Regions from separate parts of the Homo sapiens genome. Here all the other regions are linked to region 4. The links are contacts of gene promoters, found by promoter capture Hi-C in blood cells and fetal thymus (Javierre and others, 2016). All regions are on one chromosome and are shown on one strand. The core of a region is centred on a gene start or on the middle of the fragment in contact, and the rest is flanking DNA. Distances in the headings are between cores, read along the strand shown.

Region 1 (3,424 bases), core at 564-3,063, 350 kb before region 4:
AGTGTCTAGCACATTGCTCAAGGAATGATTATTGCTATTGGATCAATTTCATGGTCCAGGTGTCACATAGTCCAGTGCTCTATTTCCAGCAGAGAAGGAGAGGAATGTATTGTGGGATATGATGTTTTTTCCTGCCATCGGCCTTAAAAGCTAAGAAGTCTTGATCTAAAAGGCCATCATTCATAACTTCGTCCAAACAGTTATTAATCCATTCATTTTTTCTATCTATATCAGATATGCTGAAATGTTTTATAAATTTATTAAATTTATGTGTAAATTTAAAACAACACTTCCTTTTGTCTGACACTCAGGCCACTATGCATTGAAAGCACATCTCCTTGCCCTGGGATTTTGTGATATAGGAAATAAGTCTGGGTATAATTTCTATACTATTCACAACTGAGAAAATAATATGAACATGTTACTTTTAATGTCAAAAACTGCAATTACTTTTGCACCAACCTAATATTTCAGCTCCTACTGTGTTTCAGGTACTGTGCTAGGCCTTTTACATGCTGCATTTCACTTATTCTCCAAAATAGTCTTATGAGGTAGGAAATAGTATTCTTTAAACAGAGTTTACATTTATGAATTCTAGCCATAATACCTTTAGGCACCAATGCTCTAGAGTAAAGCTTCTCTATGTTTTCAGTCAGTGTTCATATATAGCCTTTTAATCCACTATAGTTTTTTTGTATTTGACTACCCAGAGATAGACGTTTAAGGCTACGTAATGAATTGGTTGAGGGCAGAAGGTATTAATTATGAAAGACCTTGATTCCTGTCCTGACACCAGACTAGTGTTGGCCTTGGGTAAGTTGCTTAACTTCGTAGGGCATTTGCTACTTTACATGTAAAATTTAGCTACTTCATAGATTTATTTTGGGGATTAAATGACTCAATTAACATAGTGTAAAAGGTGGGAGATAGAGTCTGATATTTAATAAGCACTCATTTAAGGGTAGTCGTTATTTTTAGTGAACATGCAATGAGCTACTTATGGATAAAACACACATACACACACACACACACCCAAAAATCATAGGGGATACCAAGCTAAAAATGACATGCTTACAGTGTTTGGACTTACAATTTAGTAAGAAAACAATATGCATGTGTGAGAAGGGTCCTCTTTTAGGGATATAAACAGGGCTTTGTAAGAGTGTAGGAAGCAGTGATGAATTTTTAGTTTGGGGTGCAGCTTGAATGAAAAGAGGTGGAGAAAATAGTACCTGAACTGGATTTTTAAAAATAAATGCATGCTAGTATTTAGAGAAGGGAGTGAGGATTTTCTAGATGCAGGGAATGATATAACTAAAAGCCCAGAACTATGAAGTACAGTATTCAGGGAAGGGTGACTATTATAGTGTGTGGTGGAACTAGGGAATAGAATTTGTGGAGACATCAATTTAGAAATAAGACTAAAAGATATACCCTAGTTTGTTAACTACCTTGCTAAAGAGTTTTAATCTTACTGCCTTATTGTTTAGAAGATTTCTATGTCAGGAATGTGGAAAGTACATTTGGAAAGGTGAAAGAGTCAGTGAAAACAGTTAAGACATTGTACAGATAGTTTAGTTGAAATATGATGAATCCCTGGACAAGGGTAGTGGCAAAAGCAATGGAACAGAGGAATGAATGAATACAAAAGACACTTCAGAGATAGAAGCCAAAGGGATGAATTAATTAATGACAGTGGTGGGAGAGGGGTGAGGAAGGAGTCAAAGATGATGATATTAGTCACTGAGCATCACTGAGTGATACTATTCACTGAGATCAAACCCTCATGAGGGAGGTTCGGGAACAAAGAGGATTCTGAACATAATGATATGAAGTACATTTGGGTAGCCCAGGGAGAGATGCCCTAAATACAAATGGAAATTTGGGCCTGAAGCATAAATGAAGAATCTAATATTGTATGTAAAAGAATATTATTATAATTGACAAATATAATTTACATCGAGATACCCTTGAAAACCTCAGATTGCCTTTTGAATTCTTAGTATTAGCAATTTTCAAAATCTAGGTATATAGAACACATATATTCTCTGTATAACCCACAGAGCATTTTAGGTGGAATCTATCCTTTAATACCAGGCTCTTATTTTTTCTTCTAACCTAAATCTGTCTATTTAATATCAGCTCTTATTTTTTGTTCTTTTTTTTTTTTAAATAAAGAATACGGTATGGGAGGGTCAGTGATTGTGGAATTCACTTTTGCAAGTGCTTTGCCAGAACCTGTTTTATCAGCTCACATAAACCCCACCTGCTGGGGCTTCGTCTTAATTGGCAGTCTTGTAATCCTCTTGTGAGATTTAACTGGGCAGCTTTATCTATAAATAACATTAATTTTCAAGGATGAAGTGCAAAGCTGCAGTCATGGTGATGAGAGATTGTTGAGCCCACCTGCCTTTTTAATCCAGTGTTAGTCCCTAAACCATTTGTCAAGTTTTACATTGTTATCACACATCTAGTACCTTAAAGAATAGTTCATAAAGAAAACTTTTCTTAGAGGGAATCTGAAACTGTCTTAGGATTTAGCTTAATAATATTATTGTTATTTTAATGCTTAATTAGGTAATATTTGGATTACTTTTAATAATTTACAAAATACTTTCACTGACATGATTTCATTGTGATTGTCACAATAAACTGATTGGAGGGAGCATTATTATTATAATTTAATTGATGAAGAAACAGATTAAGAGAGGTTGAGTAACTTGCTCAAGATCCCAGAGCCAATAAAAGTTGGGACCAAGATGTGGACATTAATTTGATTCCACATGGGTTTTTATTCCTATTACTTATATATAGCTATTTTTCTAGTAATATTGCTACATCTGAGATATAGTATTCCTCCTTACATATGGACTATATATTTTCTTGTTTTCCACCTTAAAATTCTTAATATCTTTCAATATGTTAAATGTGCAATTCAAATGTGATCAGCACCTCAGGAAATTTGTATGTTAACTCACCATGTTGATGGTGTCAAGCTTGTAAGATTCTTGTTTGATTTTCTTTTTAAAATATTCTATGTAGCTACATGACTATGTGAAGCTTAAACTAAATTATGTTCTTTGCCATAGTTATAAACAACACATATTTTGGCTTTATTTAAAAAATATTGGGATTACTTTAAGTTATGGTATTTAAATTTTACTAAAATAGAAAACTAAGAAGAATGAAAAATGACACTGAAATGGAGCTAGAGGTAGAGGAAACAATATGGTAAGTAAATACTGTTGCTTATATCCTGAATCTGTTCTGAAGACAGAGCACCATGTTGCCCTATTTTTTTTAAGAAAATATTTTGAATATCATCCTTAGGGATTGAAAACTAAAAATTGATCCTTCACCTAAAGTATGTTGTCTTCTGAGTGGGAAAAAAAGGTCAAAGACTAAAAGAGAACCCAGTTTAGGA
Region 2 (3,555 bases), core at 499-2,998, 310 kb before region 4:
TATTGCTGGTAACGGATACCCGAGTTTTCTGTTTTAGCTAAATCCCTTCATTAAAGGGAAGTCCTGATAAATAAAATGAATAACAGAGATAGAGGAAGTTTTTAAAAATTTTTTAAAAACATCATTCTGCTTTCCCCCTACTTTGGGATATCCTAACTATGATTTAGAATTTAATTAATATGTGTATAAAAAGTAGGGGCATGCTTTCGGTATTCTAACCTAGAAACATGGCAATAGCCAGAGACCTCTTGACTATTTCTCTGAGAAACTTGATCCACTTGCTCAGTCCTTTCTATCCTCTCTCTGATACTATCTCTGCCACTTACCTTATGGTCAAGGCAGTATCAGAGAGCATTTTGCATAAGTCTTAAACCTTTATGTTCCACATTTTGTTGAGACTCTCTTAAATTCCCAACATACTCATAATCTATCTACAAGCCCCCTCACACAATGAGTTTACTTTTCTCTCATCACATAATATAAAATTCTTTAAAACCACCAGTCTTAATACTGCTGATGTTTAACCATTGGGATTACAAGCCTTTTAGAATGTGATTGTGCAGCCTATACCAATCACATAACCTGTATTAGGGTTCTCTAGAGGGACAGAACTAATAGGATAGATTCATATATAATGGGAAGTTTATTAAGGAGTATTGACTCACATGATCACCAGGTGAGGTCCCATAATAAGCTATCTGCAAGCTAAGGAAAAGGAAGCCAGTCGGAATTCCAAAGCTGAAGTCCTATGTTCGAGGGCAGGAAGCATCCAGCATGGGAGAAAGATGTAGGGTGGGAGACTAAGCCAGCCTAGTCTTTTCACATTATTCTGCCTGCTTTTATTCTGATCATGCTGGCAGCTGATTAGATGGTGCCCACCCAGATTGAGGGTGGGTCTGCCTTTCCCAGTCCACTGACTCAAATGTTAATCTCCTTTGGCAACACCCTCACAGACACACCCAGGAACAATACTTTGCATCCTTCAATCCAATCAAGTTGACACTCAATATTAACCATCGCATAACCATATCAAGACCTGATTTAAAATAATTACAGTTTAAAAAATGCTGATTTTGGATGGTTTACAAATGGCTTCTGACTTAAAAAACAAGGATGGAGATTTACAAACCAGGTATGCTATAGCCTCAAAAGAACATGAAGTTGATGGTGGGACTCTTCCTTCATATATGAGTGTTTAGCAAGCTAAATTATAGGCAATAATTTGGGCCTGCACTCTGGCCAGAAAACACACTGTAAAAAAAAAAAATATATATATACATATACATATACACACACAGATAGTTGACAGACTTTTGGTGTTGACCATAATTTTGGAATGCTTTGGAAACAGAGAGGTCTCTCTCTCTCTCTCTCTCACTCTCTCTGTCTCTTATGGTCTTGTCTGAATAGAGAGGTTTTTAACTTCATCCAGACATCACATAAAAAATGGTGCTCTAGTTAATGAATTACTAAATGCCATTCAATTACCTAAGAAAATGGCTATAAATAAGGTGCCAGCCCACTGCACTAAAGATACTAAAGAGGCAAAAGGAAATGCATTAGCTGATCATAGGAGCAGCTATGACTCCTGGTTTTGTTATAAACTAAGTGTAAATGTATGCCCCATGACCTCCCTGGCATCCTCTCTCATTATGCCCCCTGAGGAATCCATGGAAACTATAACAAGACATACACAACAACATGCATTTGTCAGTTAGATTAATAAATGAAAGAACAAGACTACTATTTAAATACACAAAAGGATCTCTGGAAAGGTCTCAGTGAAAAAACCTATATTACCTAAAACGTTATCAAAGTGTTTGTTAGAAAAACTCCATGATTTAGCTCACTGGACAGATGATAAAATGTTTGCATAAACAAAACAATATTGGTGGGGAAAATTCTGTTCTGAGGCAGAACAGGTAAGTAACACATGTACAACGTGTCCAAAGTTTAACCTGGGAAAACCCATAAAAGTTTCAAGGGGAAAATTTGACCTACTAGAAGCCCTCTTTGAAGTATTTCCGTTGTATTTTATCCAGTTACCTCCCTTTTGAGATTACAAATATGTTTTGGTTATGGTCTGCATGTATTCAAATTGGGCAGAAGCCTTCTCTTGTCATCAAGCAACTGCCATGGCAGTAGTGAAAGTGTTACTAGAAAAAATAACGCCTCTTTGAGGTGTTTCTAAAGAGTTACACAGAAACCAGCATACACATTTCATGAGACAGAGTCTCCAATTCCAACTATAGGCAAGGCATAACCTACATTTTAGTACTTTCATTGTGCATACAATCTTCAGGATTCATTTAAAGAACTAATGGAATAGTAAAAACCCAATTGGGAAAATATATGTATGATTAAATTGCCTTGCCAAACTGTTTACCATTAGTATTGATGAATCTGAGAGCTATCCCCTTAAAAAAACATCACCTAGCCTCTTATGAGATAGTTATAGGCATACCTATGCCATCACCCTTAGTTCGTTCTGACTCCATCCTTATTAAAGAACCAGTACTTCAGTAATGCAAAGGACTAATCACCCAAGTGAATTGTAACTATCAACTTGTAAATGATGCTTTATGAAAGAGCTTCTAGGAGATGATGACACACTACATCATATCTAATCAGGAGACTTTGTTTATAAGAAGTACTTTATATCCAAACCTTCTCTGGAAACTTGATGAGATGAAGTTTATCAAGTGTTGTTAACTAATCTTTGTATTTCCAAATTACAGAAAATAAACTCCTGGATCCATATTTCACACCTTAAGAAAGCACTCCAACCCCCAAGGGCATCAACTTCAACAGGAAAACTGACCCTTCAACTTACCAAATCTTTGAAGTGACTAGTTGTATAGTACAACAAGCAGAAAATTTGCTATGGAGGTTGTGTTAACTGTTGACATTTATGTGAGATTTTTGCTGCATATTTGTTAGAAAAGGCTCAACAAAATTATAATAAACAATGATTGTGTTATTAATTTTTTAACTGTTATATCAGTTATAAATGCTTGGAATGAAAATGCCTTAAGGAAATTAGTCAATAATGTCACATATGTTACTTTTTCTAATTGGATCTGCCATGATTGCTATAAAACTTTGTCCTTCCACTATGACTCATGAGTAACTTCAATAACAAACTGCTTGGGAATTCCCAATGCCACAGTAGAACTAGTATATGCAAACATTATTTATTATCAGGGTGCACATAAAGGGAAACTAGGACAAAAACCTACCCTGTTTCAATTTGATCTTGTTCTCTTAAGCATGGAAAAAGAATACTTGTTGCTATAACTCAACAACTAAAACTCTTGTTTCTCAGGAGAAAATGCAAAAAGAAAACCAGTTTATTTGTCATTTTTGGTTTTGCAAATGCTAATCAAAGTTGGTCTTTATGCAATGCAATTTTTCCCACTCTTAAAACTGACTGATAACAGCAAATCAGACTGAACCTAAAAATGACTCCTTCAAAAGTACTAAAAGCCTGTGTGCTTATGTTTATATATTTGTCTGTGAATGGGGACCAAATCCTTTTATATGCTGGGGAAGAAA
Region 3 (3,209 bases), core at 23-2,522, 420 kb before region 4:
CATTCAAATTGACCTAATTTAACCTCTTAATACTGAAAACTACATCCCTAGCAGATGGGGATTCAGATTCTATTCTTCTTTATTCTAAATACCAATCTGCCTCCCTGTAACCTATTCTTTCAGTAATATGCAGCAATAAAACATGAGTACCACTTCCTCACTGAGACCATGCTTTAAATTTGAGAGCAACTATTATGTTCTAAACATTTCAAAGCCATATATTCTCACCTACCTTAAGCTGTTCATTTTATTACAGTTTCCAGACCACATTTTTTTCTTACCACCTTGTTTGCTTTCCGGTAGATTAGGAATTTTTAACCTGTGGGGTTCAAAACCTCTGGTGTCAGAGCTGAACTTTTAGAAGATCCACAAACCACTTGAAAGTAATTGTATGATTTTTTTTCTGAAGAAAAGGTCTATCGCTTTCAAAGAGTTTAAAAATTACTTCTTAAATATACTCTGATTTGCCTTCCTTGAAATATGTTACCCTGACGAAGCTAATGCTCTAAAAATAATATAGCCATTATTTATATATCTGCCAGGCACAGTTTTAAGAGTCTTACAAATACTAAATTATCATTCCTTGTAACAACCCTGTGATGTAAATAACATTATTAATCCTATTTTCCAGATGAGAGAATTAAGGCTCAGAAAGGCCAGGTAACTTTTCAAAGTTACATTGCTCGTAATGGTGGAGCTGGAATTTAAACTTAGGCAGTTTGGTTTTAGGGTCTGTGCTTCTTTTCTAAAAATTTTATTTTACTGCCTTTGTGTAGGAGCTAAATAATGAAGTATAGTATGATTATTTTCCATGATATAGATACATATTTTAGCCTGGCGTTCTTCATTCCATCCCTTTAAACATTTTCAAGTGTAAATGGATGATGTTACATTATCTTGGTTTAATTTCATCTAGATTATGTCAATATAATTTCTCATTTGTTGGCTGGAATCTTGGATCTCATTATTTATGTTTATATAAACATATAAACAATATATAATGTTTATATATAATATAAACATATACATACATAAACATGTAATATAAACAATTTGTGTATGTATGTAAACAAAAATGTTTATATATGTGAACATGTTTATATGTTTATATGAATATGTTTATAAAATATATAATATAAACAATATACAAAAATGTATTGTTTTCTTATAAAAATATAAAATATATCATGTTTATATATAATTTTTTGAATTATTTGTCACATTCTTGTGCATCTCACATTCTTAAACTAAGAATGACTAAGGGTAGCACTGTATGCAAAACTTGCCCCATTCACAAGTTACTTTAAAAGTCAGATATAAAAGAATAGGAAGAGAGAGTCATTTCATCTAGGTTTTTTAAATAATTCTTAAAAATATTTCTGTCTTAAGTATTTTTAACTCATTTAATTTCATGTTGTATGTTAAACACAAGTATATAGACTAGTTTAAGACTGTTTTATTCAGTTCTTTTTAAGTTAATATTTTAACAAACAGTTAGTAACAGAGGTTTATATTCTTTCTTTACATTGCTAAGACATTAAAAAAAATTAACTTGGGCAACATGGTGAAACCCTGTCTCTACAATAAAAATACAAAAATTAGCTGTAGAAGTTTCAATGGGCCGTGTTTACACCACTGCCGTTCAGCCTGGGTGACAGAGTAGGACCCTGTCTCAAAAAAAAAAAAAAAAATTAAGTAGCTTCAACCACTGTAATGTATTCCTAAGAGGTAACTATGGCAACCTGGCATGACAGCCTCCCAAAACCAAAACTAAAACCCAATAAATTCAAATTCTCATGAAACCGTTACATGTGCATTTCAGCAAACATCTGTTGAAAGAGCAAAAAGGGCCTTTGCCTCTCTTGCTTACTGTTGTGTTTCTAGCACTTTACTAAGAGCTTAGCCTTAGCATGTCATAGGTATTCAGTAGATATTTGTTGACTGAATAAATTATTTATTTTGTCCTATGGATTAGAGTCCAAAGAACAACAAAATGCTGATTCTGTCTTCAAGGAGCTAAGTAGATTTTTGTTTGTTTGTTTTTTGAGACGGAGTCTCGCTCTGTCTCCCAAGCTGGATTGCAATGTTGCATTCTCAGCTCACTGCAACCTCTGCCTCCCGGGTTCAAGCGATTCTCCTGCCTCAGCCTCCTGAGTAGCTGGGATTACAGGTGCGTGCCACCAAGCCCAGCTAATTTTTGTATTGTTAATAGAGATGGGGTTTCAGCATGTTGGTCAGGCTGTTCTCTAACTCCTGACCTTGTGATCCGCCTGCCTCAGCCTCCCAAAGTGCTGGGATTACAGGTGTTAGTCACCAAGGCCAGCCAATAGAGTTTTTTAAAAAAATGTCTGTGTAGATACTATGTTTTTACTAACTTCAGACTTGTTCAGACTAGGTAAACTCCTTCACTAAACTTTCTTGTAGTTCCCTCTTCTATGCTGTTCTTCTATAATACTTTACATACTTGTAATTATTTAAATCATCAATTGCATATTTAATGTTGATCTTTCACATTAGACTATAAGATTTTTGAGAGTAAGTAGAGTATTTATCTGTACCTAAAACATGGTAGGTGTTCCTAATTATTTGTTACTGATTCATAAATACTGAATAAGTGATTCTTAGGAAACTACAGCACTTCTTGTTTTCACATTTATTTCATACTTGAGAAATTATTAGCTTATGCCTGTACAGACAAGGTTTTTAAGATTTGTGTAGTATAGTATATTGAACATGTTGAGGGTTTAAAAAGTCTATAATATTCATAGCTGTATGGCTCAGTAGTTCAGAACATTTTCAGGAGTTTTGAACATTTAAGACATGAAATTATGTCTTTTATATGAAAATATGTAGCACTAGTTGTTGCCCCAGAAATTTTAATCTAGTTTACAGCATTTAGTATGTCTCTTTATCAGATGTTTATTAAGCTTATGCTCTGTTCAAGACAATATAATAGATATGAATCAATAACTTGATTCCTTTCCTTTAGAAGCCTAGAGGAAAGATAGAATGTATATGCGTGATTAGTTATGCAGAGAATGTAGTAAGGTCCTAAGAGTACCTAAGAACTCCATCAAGATTAGTGATCAGAATTTTAGGGTCTCCAGTGATTTGGTTAATAATTTAATCAGAAAAAAGTCTCTATTATAGGCATTAGCAGTAATCTATAATATACAGTAACGAAGTTTTGGCATTCCTGTATTAAAATT
Region 4 (3,527 bases), core at 747-3,246:
ACCTAAGGTGGAAGCAGAGGTTTTTGAAGTCAGTAGGTCAATGCTGAAAATATTTTTGGAGGAAATTGGGCAAAGTGAAGACGGCAAATCTGAACTTGTACTATCCACCTAGGGGTCTATGTGAACAGTGAGATCACAAGTAGTGAGCCAAAATAGATGAGATAAGGAGGCCATAGAACCACAAAATGGGTAAATGGGATTTGGTCTGCACTGATTCCAGAGAGGAAAAGACATACCTGCAGCAGCCTTTATTCATTATAAAGGTGGAGATAAATCAGCTTCATTTAGTAAGGCGGGAAAGAGACAAACTTCTCCCCGTATATATTAACCCTAACCATGACATATAATGACATTTTCTTTAAAAGCGTTTAAATAAATTTTTTATCTTTAATGCATGACACACTATTGGATATCATCTGGAAATATTGAGAGCTATAACTTTTTGTTATCAAAAAAGCACTAGAGCACTTTTTTTGTGCTCTATAAGCAAGCACTGTGAAGCTGCTTTTCCAGGGAGTCTTTTTTATCAGAGTCTTAGAACGAACATGCCCTGCAGTATAGATTCTTTCTTTCACCAGTTGTGTCTGGGGGAAAGAGATGAAAACTACCAGTGTGCTCTCTGCTCCTCTAATTAACATACACCTCCTTTCTAGAAATTCAGGGATTTCTTTGGAAAGAGAAATTTTTTTTTTTTTTTTTTTTTTTTTTTTTTTTTTTTTTTTTTTTTTTTTTTGAGACGGAGTCTCGCTCTGTGGCCCAGGCGGGAGTGCAATGGCGCAATCTTGGCTCACTGCAAGCTCTGCCTCCCGGGTTCACGCCATTCTCCTGCCTCAGCCTCCCAAGTAGCTGGGACTACAGGCGCCCGCCACCACACCCGGCTAATTTTTTGTATTTTTAGTAGAGACGGGGGTTTCACCGTGTTAGCCAGGATAGTCTCGATCTCCTGACCTCGTGATCCGCCCGCCTTGGCCTCCCAAAGTGCTGGGATTACAGGCGTGAGCCACCGTGCCCAGCCCGAAAAATGTTTATTATAAATCTATCCTTCCTAAAAAAGACATTACTGGCTTTTTTTTTTTTCAAAGAGAGATTTATAATATGCCAGGTTGAATTTAGGGGAAAAAAATAAAAACAAATAAGAGTTGAATGTTGGGCTACAGAAAGCAGATATTCCAGAAGATTTAGTGAAATTATATTCTTTGAAAATATTGTAAGAGAGTTAGGAGAGTGAGTTCAGTATTTAATTAAAGGCAAAAACAAGATCCTGTGTTTGAAAAACAAGATATACTAAATGAACATGTCAATCTTTAAAGACATGAATTGATTCTCATGGAATTTGGGTACATTTAAACAATGCACCTTCTTCATTACAGTGCTATAAGGTATTTGGATTTACACTGCAAATTTGGAATTCAACCTGATTTCATTTTCTTCCCTAAATCTCAACATATATATTACATTATTTGGTATGCCTTTAATCTTAAATTTACAAAGAAATTATTATCAACACAGGTGTTCTGAGTCTGGAGTGGAAATATTTAAACAGATTTGATTTTTAAAGTGGTCTGATACTCATTTTTTAAAAATGTACATTTTTATATTTGGGGTTTGTTATAAACTTTGCCTTTTTAAATAATGCAAAAATGCTCTAGGTTATTCACTGTCTTTTCAATTTTGTTCTCCTTTGGAAAAAAGGAGGAAGTAGTTACTACTTAAGGACAAGTAGCAATTTCAGACGCGCGCACGCACACACACACACACACACACACACATCACACACACAGAAATCCACAACAGCACTCATGGAATTTAGGACTGATTAATTTACATATTATTTAAGCATATTTTCTGACTTCAAACTCCTGGTTCTAATAACTAAGCATTTACATTTACAATATTAGCTTCTATGAGAAGAGAGCGTTCTCCCTCTTCCCCTTTAATTCCACCTTAAAACATCTGCAAAAGCGCAAGGAGACCAGCCCACATTTTAGCCCCTCCTACTCAGGATAAGACTTTCTCTAAGTCCGGAGCTGAAAAAGGATCCTGACTGAAAGCTAGAGGCATTGAGGAGCCTGAAGATTCTCAGGTAACTCTGGGAACTGTAAGCAATATATTTATTCTTCCTCTGCTCCACTTCTCTCTCCCACCCTCCTTAGCTTTTACTTGGTAGTTTACTTGGAAGGAAGAAAGGACGGAGGGGAAACCTCGCTGCTTTAAAAAGTCAGCATGTCCTCTGCCTTTTGAAGTGAAACACAGATTAGGGACCTCAATTTTCTTCAAACCCACGCAGATTTGCCTTCCTGGATCTAAATGCACTGTGGAGTCAAAGATTAAGGTGTTTCTTTGGGTTGGAATCCCAGAAAGTTAGCATTCAAAACGGCGGTGAGGTGGCGCTTATTAGCGTTCCACGTGATGACACCCAATGGTTACTGATCCCCAAACTTGAGCAGCAGCATGCTGTGCTGTTTGACAGCCCTAGCGATCTTTAGCGAGAGACTTTGTTGACTCACTTAACTTTTAATTTCTAAAAATTGGTCATTTTTGTTACTTATGGGACGCTTTCCTGGCTAGTCAATATTTTGCAGAATTATGCGAAAGAAAGAGGATTATTGAAAAATTAACTGTAAACGGACTGGTGTTCTGATGATCCACCCTTCCCCTAAGTTACTTGGCTTGCCAAGAGAAAAAAAAAATCTCAAAACTAGATACTAGAAAAGATTTGATCAAATTACATAGTTAAATTTTGAGTGTGGATATTTCAGTAATTTTGTTTCCAAAAAAAACAGAAAAAAAAGGTATTTGATTTTAAAGTATCAGTGGATGAATGTATCTGTCTCCTACAATTTATAATCATTTTAGTCTTAAAAATAAATTCACCTCCAAAACCAGAACAAGAAATACTCCTCATATGGGTTGATGATGTCAGCATTTATTCAGCTAAGGCAGATGGAGAGTATTAGAGGCGTACTGTCTGAATGGGTGTCAATTCTAAAGTTATATTTGCCAATATAATTTGAGTTCAAAGAAGATTTGTATTTTTGTTTCTCTTTGTTGTTTAAATTTAGAATTGTGGCTCAAGGGATATTTGTAGAGGACTGTAGTGAAACAAGCTCTGTTAAGAATTTTAAAGTTACATTCTACAGGTTCCTACACCTTGCCAATCAAGTTAGAGGTTGGGATAAGAAACAGGTATTTACTTCTTTCATTAGCTCCGGAAGAGTTAAATTTTAAATTAAGCAATAATTGTGAAATGCATAGAGAAGTGTTTAATGTGCATTTGCTCAAAGGAGTTTTACAAACTTCCCTTAGGGGAAGCATATTTTTTGAGATAAGACATTGCATCTTTTTAACATATTTTTAAAAAGTAAGTTATTCTGGCTGGGCGCAGTGGCTCATGCCCGTAATACCAGCACTTTGGGAGGCCGAGGCGGGTGGATCACTTGAGGGCAGGAGTTCGAGACCAGCCTGGCCAACGTGGTGAAACCCCATCTCTACTAAAAATAGAAAAACTAGCCGGACGTGGTGGCAGG
Region 5 (3,551 bases), core at 820-3,319, 390 kb before region 4:
TTTTTAGGAGCATTTTCTTTTATACTATGTAAAAAAATCCCTGAAAGATGAACAGACTTTGACAGCTGTTATAGGTGAGAGCCTCAAGTAAAGATAAAATTAAATGTTTTCCTTAAATGCTATTGCCCAAATAATGAATATCCATAATTGAAAACTGAGATTACCTTATACTTTGCTTTGTTCTCTCTGCCAGAGTCCTACCCACTGTATTAGTTGTTAGAGTTGTGGAACTTAACCGAAGCTTTCTCTGGATTCCAGGTAACTTTGTTCTTTTGTTTTTGTTTTTTTCCTGCAGAATCGATATATGGGCCTGAAATATATTAAGGTAGATCTTCTAATCTTAGATAATCCTGAATTTTTTTGTTAATGCATTCTTTGCATTGATGATTGCCAGTATGAAGTATGCTGTGATATGAAAAGCACAGGAACCAGGGATGGGAGGCCCAAGGTTAAATTCAACCTCTATATCTTCCTGGTTGCATAACCTGGACTAGTCAGCTAACCACAAACACTTCAATTTTGTCATCCTTGAGGAGGACATATTGAAAACATTGTTCTACCTACCTCATAGAGCAATTGTGTCTCGTAGTTCTTCCAGTGAGATAATGTATGTGAAATAATTATGTAACATAACACATCATAAAAATGTTGGCTATCTTTGGTGCAACAAAGCTATTCCACAGCATGGATTATACTGTCTTTACATCAATTCTTTAGTAATTATGAACATACATAGTATTTGACTTTTATATATGTTTCAGGAATGCAATATCTAACTTATTCATGAGGTACTTTATTTTCATAGCAAGGCATATAAACAACTACCTATGACAAATGTATTTGTTCTTAAATGATTTTTCAAATTTTTGTTATTAAAAGCACAGGAGTTACTGCAGTAGCACCTATCTTGAAAAGTCAAGTTAAAATGATTATTGTTTGTGTATATAATATATGTGTGTGTGTGTGTGTATTGTGTGTGTAATTTTTTCAAATCCAATTGTTGTAAAAGATAACTGTTTTGTCATAGAGCCTGCATATTTTTATCTAAATATATGTTCGTACCATTTTAGTCATTATACTCTTTTCACGTTTTAAACTTCCAGTTAGAGACCAAACTTTTGAAAATTGACTAGAGAAATGCTGCTGTTGAGTTTACTTTCTTCTGAAAGAATATCTTTTCCTGTAATGGGAGGTACAATATTTCTGTACAGAGCTACTTCACTCCCACAAGTCATAGGTCATCAAGAAGAGCATCTACATCCCCAAATGTTTCAGAGTGTAAGTCAAAAACTCTTACAATTCCACTTCTTTTCATGTGTCTCGTAGATGTTTTAAGAATATTTTCAGCTGCATGGCTTGACAGCCTTGGGATTCCCTCACACATTCACAGTCTTTTTTGGATCAGTCTGATGTGAGCATGAAAACTGGGAGTTGTGGAGCCCACTTAGGAAATGATTGCAATTGTCCAGGAGACAGATGATGGTAATTAAGTTTCCATCAGCCTGGAACTCAGGACAGAAGATACATATTCTGTATGTAGAGGTAAGCAGTTCTTTCCTGGGGATGATTTTTACCTTCCAGAGGACAGTCGGCAATGTCTGAGGATAGTTTTAGTTGTTGCAACTGAGGGAGGGATGCTAATAGTATCTACTGGTTAGAGGCCAGGAATGCTGCTAAACATACTATAATGCACAAGACAACTCCCCACAGCAAATAATTATCTGGTCCAAAATGTAAACAGTGGTGATTTTCAGAAGCCTCGGTGTAGATGGTACCTGAAGTCGTCAGAGGGAATAACAGCATCTGAAGTGTGAGGGAGGAGACTAATCCAGAAAAACACCAATAGACAAGGAGCATGCATGCCCCCGGTCACAGAAGCAGAGAAGAATCTGTAGAGTGGTATTATGAAAACCAAAGTGAGGAAAGAATTTCAATTTGGGATTGGTAATCAGCATTCAATGTAGCCGAAAGTTAAGTAAGATGAGGACTGTTGAGTCTAACAGGCTTGGTGGTTAGGTGGTGTATTGGATATTCTCCATTTGCTTCTTAAAATTCACGTTCTATCTTTCTCCATCCTGTTTTATCCCTAGAGAAGGTTGACTTAACAGACTTCATCAACAGGGTTCTCTTGTCCTCTGGCTTTCAGCTGGATTCTGACAATGAAAGGTTCTGAAAAGAGATAGAAGAGCACGAGGAGAGAGTGCAAGTTGTTTTTCCCTGAAGCTCTGTCCCTCCTGGGCCACAGAGTGACAGGGGCAGTGTTTCTCTTCCAAAAGCAAAAGCTCCTGTTGGGCAGCTTTTTCCTATAGCTGCAGGTCTCACTGGTTTCTTGCCCCCTCCAGGCCTGTGGGTAGGAGTCACTTTCACCTGTTAATAGGTGGTGCTTCACTATCTTTTGTTAGTTTCCTGCCTAGACCCTTGTAAACAGTCTTTTTTTTTTATTATACTTTAAGTTTTAGGGTACATGTGCACAATCTGCACGTTAGTCACATATGTATACATGTGCCATGTTGGTGTGCTGCACCCATTAACTGGCCATTTAACATTAGGTATATCTCCTAATGCTATCCCTTCCCCCTCCCGCCACCCCACAACAGGCCCTGGTGTGTGATGTTCCCATTACTGTGTCCATGTGTTCTCATTGTTCAATTCCCACCTATGAGTGAGAATATGTGGTGTTTGGTTTTTTTGTCCTTGAGATAGTTTCCTGAGAATGATGGTTTCCAGCTTCATCCATGTCCCTACAAAGGACATGAACTCATCATTTTTTATGGTTGCATAGTATTCCATAGTGTATATGTGCCACATTTTCTTAATCCAGTCTATCATTGTTGGACATTTGGGTTGGTTCCAAGTCTTTGCTATTGTGAATAGTGCTGCAATAAACATACATGTGCAAATAGTCTTCTTTAAACTCCCTTCAATCATACCTTTTCTGTTTGTGTTGTTTCCTTCCAGGGACGTGCCTGACACAGAGGTCATTGCTGATCTGTATCAGAACCACTTTCAGTGGAATAGTTGAGGCAGATAGGTGGAAAAATAAATGGAAAGAAAGGAAGAAGATTAAATAAGAAAAATTGAATTTTTGTTTGTTTGTTTTTGCAAGGAGTTTTGGGAATGAAGAAGAGAAGGAAAATACTGGAGACAATAGGTAGTAATAATTTGGAAGAACCAAGACAAGTTTTTAAATAAGAGATAGAAAGTTGTTTTTAGGTTGTGAATAAAAAACATGGAGGGGATAGAACTGTAATATGAATAAAAAAGAAATTTGAATGTATTATAATCCAATTAAAAGCACAGATGACAATATTAGTCTCACATAGAAACACATCTTTGAGAACAATAAAATGGAAAATAGCTGAGTTAATAGATGTGGGGTAAGAAATTAGGGAAGTTCATGCCTGGTGGGCTCAGTGTCTACTGGGATGTTGAAAGAAGGTCGTTTAAGGATGTAGGAGAGGGAGACTGAGGAGAATAATGAAGGTTTGGAATAGCTGCTGTGGGAAACGGAAGAGGGATCTGTTTGCAGAACAAGCTATGGACCCCAGTTG
Region 6 (3,446 bases), core at 229-2,728, 330 kb before region 4:
CCATCTTCCCTGCTTATAAGAGAAAGGAGAGCAGTTCTTTCTATTGTAGAAATGTGTCTGATACACATTACATTCTGCATCAGCATCATATTTAGTTGTTCTACTAGCTCTAGTAGATTTCAAGGCCATGATTTTATATTATTGAATTGTCAGCATTTAAAATATTTAATTCTGCTTCCCTTTCACAATTATCGACTATATTCCCTTGGACTTGGAATGATGATATAACTTACAGGACAGGATTTGCCTGTTTGCTTCATCTTGACTCTTAACCCTTTTCTTTTTTTTTTTTTTTTTTTTTGAGACAGGGTCTTACTCTTACCAGGTTAGAGTGCAGTGGTGCAATCTCGGCTCACTGCAACCTGCGCCTGCAAAGTTCAAGTGATTTTTGTGCCTCAGCCTCCCGAGTAGCTGAGATTACAGGTGTGTGCCACCATGCCCAGCTAATTTTTGTATTTTCAGTAGAGACAGGGTTTTGCCATGTTGGCCAGGCTGGTCTCTAACTCCTGGGCTCAAGTGATCTGCCTGCTTCAGCCTCCCAAAGTGCTGGGATTATAGGAGTGAGCCACTGTGCCGGCGTTGACTCTTTTTATTTATTTATTTATTTATTTATTTATTTATTTATTTATTTATTTTTTGAGAGAGTTTCACTCTATCTCCCAGGCTGGAATGCAGTGGCAGGATCTCAGCTCACTGCAACCTCCGCCTCCAGGTTTCAAGTGATTCTCATGCCTCAGGCTCCCGAGTAGCTGGGATGACAGGCGCCTGCCACCACACTGGCTAATTTTTGTATTTTTATTAGAGACGGGGTTTTGCCACATTGGCCGGGCTGGTCTTGAACTCCTGACCTCAGGGGATCCGCTTGCTTAGGCCTCCCAAAGTGCTGGGATTACAGGTACGAGCCATGGCACCTGGCCTCTTATTCTTATATTAAACAGAAGCATAAGAAATTGCCATTTTCATAAGTTAAAACTGGTAAAAAAAAAAATAGCAATTTCATATGGTTAAATTCAAATATTACATTAATTTTCATTTAGTGGTATTATTTTGATCACTTATATTATTAAATTTCTTAGATATTTTGTTTCTTTGCCTTAATCATTTCCCCCCGATAAAAGCTTGGGTTTTTTTTTTTCTAAATATCATCTGTTGTTGATGAAGCCACTAGGTACAGATAAAAGAGGAGGAGATTTATTTCTTAATCTCTGTCTTTTTGGACAAGGTCTGGATAATCTTTTCCTTCTTGGCCTGTAGCTGCTTCTTAAAGCACTAGTGGCCTCAGCATAGTCATTTTATGAGACCATTTTCTGTGGTTTATAACAGACCTGAAACTGGGTAATTTATAAAGAAAAGAAATGTATTTCTGACAGTTATGAAACCTGAGAAGTCCAAGGTTGAGAGAGTGCATCTGTTGAGCGCCTTCTTTCTGGTGGGTACCATGAAGAATCCCGAGCATCACATGGCAATAGGGAGGCATGTGCTAATGCGCTTGCTGTGATCTCTCTTCCTTTTCTTTGAAAGCCTCCAGCTCCTCCCCCATGATAACTCACTAATTCATTAATCCATGAATGCATTAATCTATTCATGAGGAAAGAGCCCTCATGATCCAGTAACCTCTTACAGGTCGTACCTTTCAACACTGTCACATTGCGGATTAAGTTTCCAACACATGAAATTTGGGAGACACAGTCCAACTACAGCGGTCATCCAGGAGCCTCTTGTGAACCCTACCTGCTTTTTCAGCCTGGGGAACGTGTTTCATGAGAATCTTGTTTGTAAATATTTGTTCATCTCTTGGTATGTGCCATGTTACCTAAAGCCATTTGTTTTCTTCAGTCACAAGCTTGCAGATAATGAGCTCATTTTTTTTTTAAATCAGGTTAAAAATTTGCTGATAGAAGTTGGTGTTGGTGATATTACCATTTTCTTTGGAGTCTAGCCATACCTTTTTCTTGCTATAGCAAAGGACTCCTTGAGAGTGAGCCTTTTCTAAAACTTGAGTACTTGACCTCTGGGAACTGCTATTTCATATCTCACGCCTGCCACCCCTATCACTACAATAGGTCCAGTCTCAGGCACCTTTTTCCCAACTAGTTTTAACAGAATATGAAGTGCTTTGCTGAATCCAGAAAAAGACAGACTATTTTGTGGAATAATAACATCTCTTAGGGTGAGATGGCTTATTTTATATGTCAACTTGCTGTGCCACAGTACTCAGATATGTAGTCACAAATTATTCTGGATATTTCTATAAGGGTGTTTTGGGATGAGATTAATGTTTAAGTTTGTGAACTTTGAGTAAAGCAGATTGCCCTCCATGATAAAGGTGGCCCATATCTAATCAGTTGTTGGCGTGAATAGAACATATGACTCACCTCCCCTGAGCAAGATGGAATTCTGCAAGTAGCTACTTTTATATTTGAACTACAATACTGGCTCCCTCCTAAGTCTTTAGCTTGATGGCCTTTGGACTTGAATTGTAGCACTGGCCCTTCTCTGGGTCTCTACTGGCCCGCCCTGTAGATTTTGGGCTTTTAGCCTCTATTCTCAGTGAGCCAATTCCTTAAAAATAAATCTCTTTATATATAAAATAAATCTATCTATCTGTCTATCTATCTATCTATGGTACACACCACACACACACACACACACACACACATTCTATTAGTTCTGTTCCTCTGACAAACCCTGACTAATAATACACAGGGGATGAAAACTAATGTTTATTTAGTGCAGGATACGTGTCAGGCATTCTATACATATTAACTCAGAATCCCCTAGACAACTCTCGGGGTAACAGATGCAAAAAGGTTAAGGAACTTGCCCCAAAGCATCCACTTAATGACAGACCCTGGTTTGAATTAAGGTTTGTATTATTCTAAAGTGTCTTCAACTACATGACCCTGCATGAAAGAAATGCATTTGATAAGTGAATACTTCCTGTGTTCTTATAATAACCTAATAACATAAGGAAGCTATAAAACTCTCTTTTGTTAAGGACCATATTACTCTCTCCTTTTCTCACTTTCTAGCAAACAACTATCTTTTTTTGGTGGTGGTGTTGATTAGCATCTATTCTTCTTTCTAGTAGAACTGATTTAGTTGAGGATTTACCTTTCTCCCATTGTGTATAATTGTGTTAGGAGGGAATTTCAGGCCCACCTCTGCCTGTAACTTTAATGGGTCAGAACAATTCTTTCCCACTTCTTTGAAATGCTAGTTGGTAAGCTTGTGATTTAAGCTCCACTAATTGGAAAGTTTTCCCCAAGGCTTTGAGGTCTGAGCAAGTGATACAAGGACAGAGAGAACAGCCAAAAGTCTTTCATGAAAGCAACCGCTATTGCAGCTCTAAGATAGTTATTATCTCCTGCTTCTTTTTCCCTTGTCTTCCAGAGTTCCCTTGGTTTCTTTCCCATATCAATTCTGGTCCCCTAACTTCCTGTCTT
Region 7 (3,385 bases), core at 747-3,246, 440 kb before region 4:
TTGTTTCATTTTACTAATATTTTCCGATCTGTTCATTTATAACTTATAAAACAAATATAACTAGAAAACTGAATAAGCATATTACTTTTTAGTTAATGTAATTCATTCACTCATCCAGTAAACCATTTTTAGGGACCACTCCATGATTTACATTTGAGTTGTCCAAATAAATAAGAAGCTGATATTAAATACATTAAAAGATAAACAACATGTGAGGGAAAGATTGTAAGGCCATCCTTGAAAATTAGCTTCCCTTTAGCTTCCATTATAATGTGGGTATTAATGATTTAACCTGTTACAAATATTACTCAGTTTTTGCATGTCATAAAAGCTAAGGAATTTAGGTATCACTCTAATTAGATTGAGGAATCAGATATCACTCTAACAAGCTTTTTAATTTGTTGTTGAAGTGTTCGTCACAAAAGGATTATGTGATTCTTGCCACTAGAACGCCACCCAAAGAGGAGCAAAGTGAGAACCTCAAACATCCCAAAGCTAAGTTGGATAACTTGGATGAAGAATGGGCCACAGAACATGCCTGCCAGGTTATCTTATTTTTTTGTTTATATGTTTAAGTTTTATTTCAAAAAAGAGCTAGAATCAAGAAGATTTAGTGAATGAGTAGAGAGAAGAGACATAGGGAGAAAGTAGCTAAAGATGACTGAGATTTTTAGTCTGGGTGTCTAGGAGGATACTGTTGGCATTACACGAGGAAGAAACAGATTTGGGATGGGTGAGTGGGAATAATGACTAAATTAATTCACTTACAAGTATTTATTGAATGAATTATATATCATCAAATAAATAATGTTAGAATAAGGTAAAAATAGAATTATTTCCTTTTCTGGGGTTGGGGGTGAGGGGAGGGAACTTAGAGGACAGGTCAATAGGTGCAGCAAGCCACCATGGCACACGTAAACCTATGTGACAGACTTGCACATTCTGCGTTTTTGTTTGTTTGTTTTAAGAAAAAGAATTTTCTTTAATAAATAAAAGATTTATTTCCTTTTCCAATCAACTTTAAATCTTTAAATCTTTTAAACTCAAACGTGTTTCTGTGTATGTAGATATATATATATATATATATGGACATATATTTGTGTCTGTGTATGTGTTTGATTATGGAGCAGTGTGTAGTTATATTTAAAAAAAAAATAAAATCTTGCCTGTAATCCCAGCACTTTGGGAGGCCAAGGTGGGTGGATCACCTGAGGTCAGGAGTTCAAGACCAGCCTGGCCAACATGGTGAAACCCCGTCTCTAGTAAAAATATGAAAAACTAGCCAGGTGTGGTGGCAGGTGCCTGTAATCCCAGCTACTTGGGAGGCTGAGGCAGGAGAATTGCTTGAACCTGGGAGGCGGAGGTTGCAATGAGCCAAGATCACACCATTGCACTCCAGACTGGGCGACAAAGCGAGACTCTGTCTCAACAAAACAAAACGAAGAAATCCAGTATTTAATTATTATTGTTTTAGTCTGTTTGGGTGGCTATTAAGGAATACCTAAGACTGAGTAATTTATAAAGAAAAAAAGGCCTGTTTGGCTCATGATTCTGCTGGCTGCAAGATTGAGCATCTGGTCAAAGCCTCAGGCTGCTTCTGTTCATGTCAGAAGGCAGATTGGAGCTGGTGTGTAAAGATCACTGGGCCAGAGAGGAAGCAAGGGGTTGGGAGGTGCTAGGCTTTTTTTTTTAACAACCAGCTCTCGTAGGAACAAATATAGCGAGAACTCATTCACTGCTCTGAGGATGGAACCAAGCCATTAATGAGGGATCTGCCCCATGACCCAAACACCTTCCATTAGGCCCCACTTGGGTTCACATTTCAACATGGTGTTTAAGGGGACAAACATGGCAACTATCTTCTAAAGAAAATATTAAGTAATGTAAAGTTAAATTCCCAATGGTTTGTAAATAACTTTCTACTCTAATTTTGCTTTTGGTCTCTCATAAAATTGTATATGACACACACACACACACACACACACACACACACAGAATATTAATGAATTTATATAGTAAATTAGCTTAACCTTTTACCTCTAGAAAGAAAAGGTTAATTTTACTTTTTCCCCTTTCTTGCTCTCACCTCCATCTCCTAAAAAATGGTTACTTTTTTGTGTTGGTGATTTTGAAAAGATATGCAGGCTCCTTATGCTAAATATGAAAACTTTATTTGTCAGAATTGTGCTACTATAGTAAATAGAATTTATTAAATCAGAGGAAAACACCGAAAGACATAGTGCAAGTAGATTAAGGATTAGAGCATGGTACCTAATTTTCTAAGACTGTACTCTGATTGATTGCTTGTACATTAAGTAATCAAAAGCTAACCAAAACACTCTAATCTCTGAGTGTAGATGATAGAAAAAAATCCATGTGGTATTAAGAACTAGCCACAATCATGTGAAGGGAAATACAGATATGGAGATATCATGGTAGTATGTATCAAAAACCTTAAAAATATGTATAACTTCTTAAACCAGTTATCCACCTCAAGGGATTTGTCCTAAACAAATAATTCTATGAATGCAGAAAGATGTACTAGGATTTTTAATCAATATTATTTTAAGGTAAAATTAGATATAGCAAAGATGCCCAGTATCAGTAAGTGGGCTTAAAAATTTGAGGTTAATCTATGCAATAGAAAATAATGGATTTTCAAGTCAGACTCCCTCTGTTCAAATTCCAGATCTAGTATGCTGCTAAAAATAGGGATACAGAGGTAGAATTACTTATTCCCTTAAGGAGCTCCCTGACCAACTAGTAGGGTTCACAGATAACTATGATATAAGACTATGTGATAAAATCCATGGGAAAACTACACCAAAGCCCTGTCGGAGTTCAGAGATGAAAAGATCAGAGAAGGCAGCTTCCTCAAGCTGCCTTTGAAGTATCCAGTAGGGTTGAGACATGCAGAAGTATAAGAAAAAGTCAGTTTCGGCCTAGGGAACACCCTGAGTAAAGACACATAGTTAGAAAGCCTAGGATGTGTATGGAAAACAGTTTATAGCCTCATTTGACACTACTTTTCAAGTAGTTTTTGACAAATATTTGAATTACTTGAGGAAAAGTAGTGTCAAATGAGGGTATAAACATCATTGACCAGATCCTAGAAAGTCTGAAATATCAATCTAAAATAAAACTTCATTTTATTTAGCTGATGGTGGGACGCCATTGAAAAAATATTTCAGTCTTTGATCTCCTGAGAAAAGGATTTATTTATTGATGTAGCTAAAGGATGTTGTTATCAGATAGTTTTATTTATAAAGTAGTTTTAAGGTGAAAAGCTAAGGACATGCTAAGCAGACAGTTTCTCAAACAGAAAGGATTGCATATAATGCCAATTTGTTAGCTAATAATATATTTCTATTTTTAGGTATCCAGA

The links. The method cuts DNA at HindIII sites, captures the fragments that hold promoters and counts their contacts. A CHiCAGO score of 5 or more calls a contact.
Region 1: a fragment that was not itself captured here is called in contact with the fragment with the promoter of PLA2G4A in region 4 in 4 of 17 cell types (monocytes, neutrophils, megakaryocytes and 1 more); the score reaches 12.0 in monocytes.
Region 2: a fragment that was not itself captured here is called in contact with the fragment with the promoter of PLA2G4A in region 4 in 1 of 17 cell types (monocytes); the score reaches 5.4 in monocytes.
Region 3: a fragment that was not itself captured here is called in contact with the fragment with the promoter of PLA2G4A in region 4 in 3 of 17 cell types (monocytes, neutrophils and megakaryocytes); the score reaches 9.8 in monocytes.
Region 5: a fragment that was not itself captured here is called in contact with the fragment with the promoter of PLA2G4A in region 4 in 1 of 17 cell types (neutrophils); the score reaches 7.2 in neutrophils.
Region 6: a contact is called between a fragment that was not itself captured here and the fragment with the promoter of PLA2G4A in region 4, in 1 of 17 cell types (neutrophils). The highest score is 5.9, in neutrophils.
Region 7: a fragment that was not itself captured here is called in contact with the fragment with the promoter of PLA2G4A in region 4 in 1 of 17 cell types (monocytes); the score reaches 6.2 in monocytes.

Annotation. Positions count from the first base shown.
Region 1 is chr1:186,477,057-186,480,480 of GRCh38, forward strand. No RefSeq gene overlaps it. Among named protein-coding and RNA genes, the nearest start is that of PDC, 18 kb to the left of the region's middle. The HindIII fragment of the contact is 2,361 bases long and covers 634-2,994 here.
Region 2 is chr1:186,517,038-186,520,592 of GRCh38, forward strand. No RefSeq gene overlaps it. Among named protein-coding and RNA genes, the nearest start is that of PDC, 58 kb to the left of the region's middle. The HindIII fragment of the contact is 5,903 bases long and covers 1-3,555 here.
Region 3 is chr1:186,407,519-186,410,727 of GRCh38, forward strand. All of the region lies in intron 12 of ODR4 (odr-4 GPCR localization factor homolog), which reads left to right. Among named protein-coding and RNA genes, the nearest start is that of PDC-AS1, 26 kb to the right of the region's middle. The HindIII fragment of the contact is 3,306 bases long and covers 1-2,925 here.
Region 4 is chr1:186,826,953-186,830,479 of GRCh38, forward strand. PLA2G4A (phospholipase A2 group IVA) reads left to right here and starts at 1,997. Exons shown (of 18, transcript NM_024420.3): 1 at 1,997-2,083. The HindIII fragment of the contact is 13,801 bases long and covers 1-3,527 here.
Region 5 is chr1:186,435,032-186,438,582 of GRCh38, forward strand. PDC-AS1 (PDC antisense RNA 1) reads left to right here and starts at 130. Exons shown (of 5, transcript NR_126002.1): 1 at 130-258; 2 at 1,327-1,542. The HindIII fragment of the contact is 3,661 bases long and covers 240-3,551 here.
Region 6 is chr1:186,496,505-186,499,950 of GRCh38, forward strand. No RefSeq gene overlaps it. Among named protein-coding and RNA genes, the nearest start is that of PDC, 37 kb to the left of the region's middle. The HindIII fragment of the contact is 725 bases long and covers 1,117-1,841 here.
Region 7 is chr1:186,382,612-186,385,996 of GRCh38, forward strand. It overlaps ODR4 (odr-4 GPCR localization factor homolog), which reads left to right. Exons shown (of 14, transcript NM_017847.6): 3 at 411-545; 4 at 3,377-3,385. Among named protein-coding and RNA genes, the nearest start is that of ODR4, 8.5 kb to the left of the region's middle. The HindIII fragment of the contact is 3,219 bases long and covers 388-3,385 here.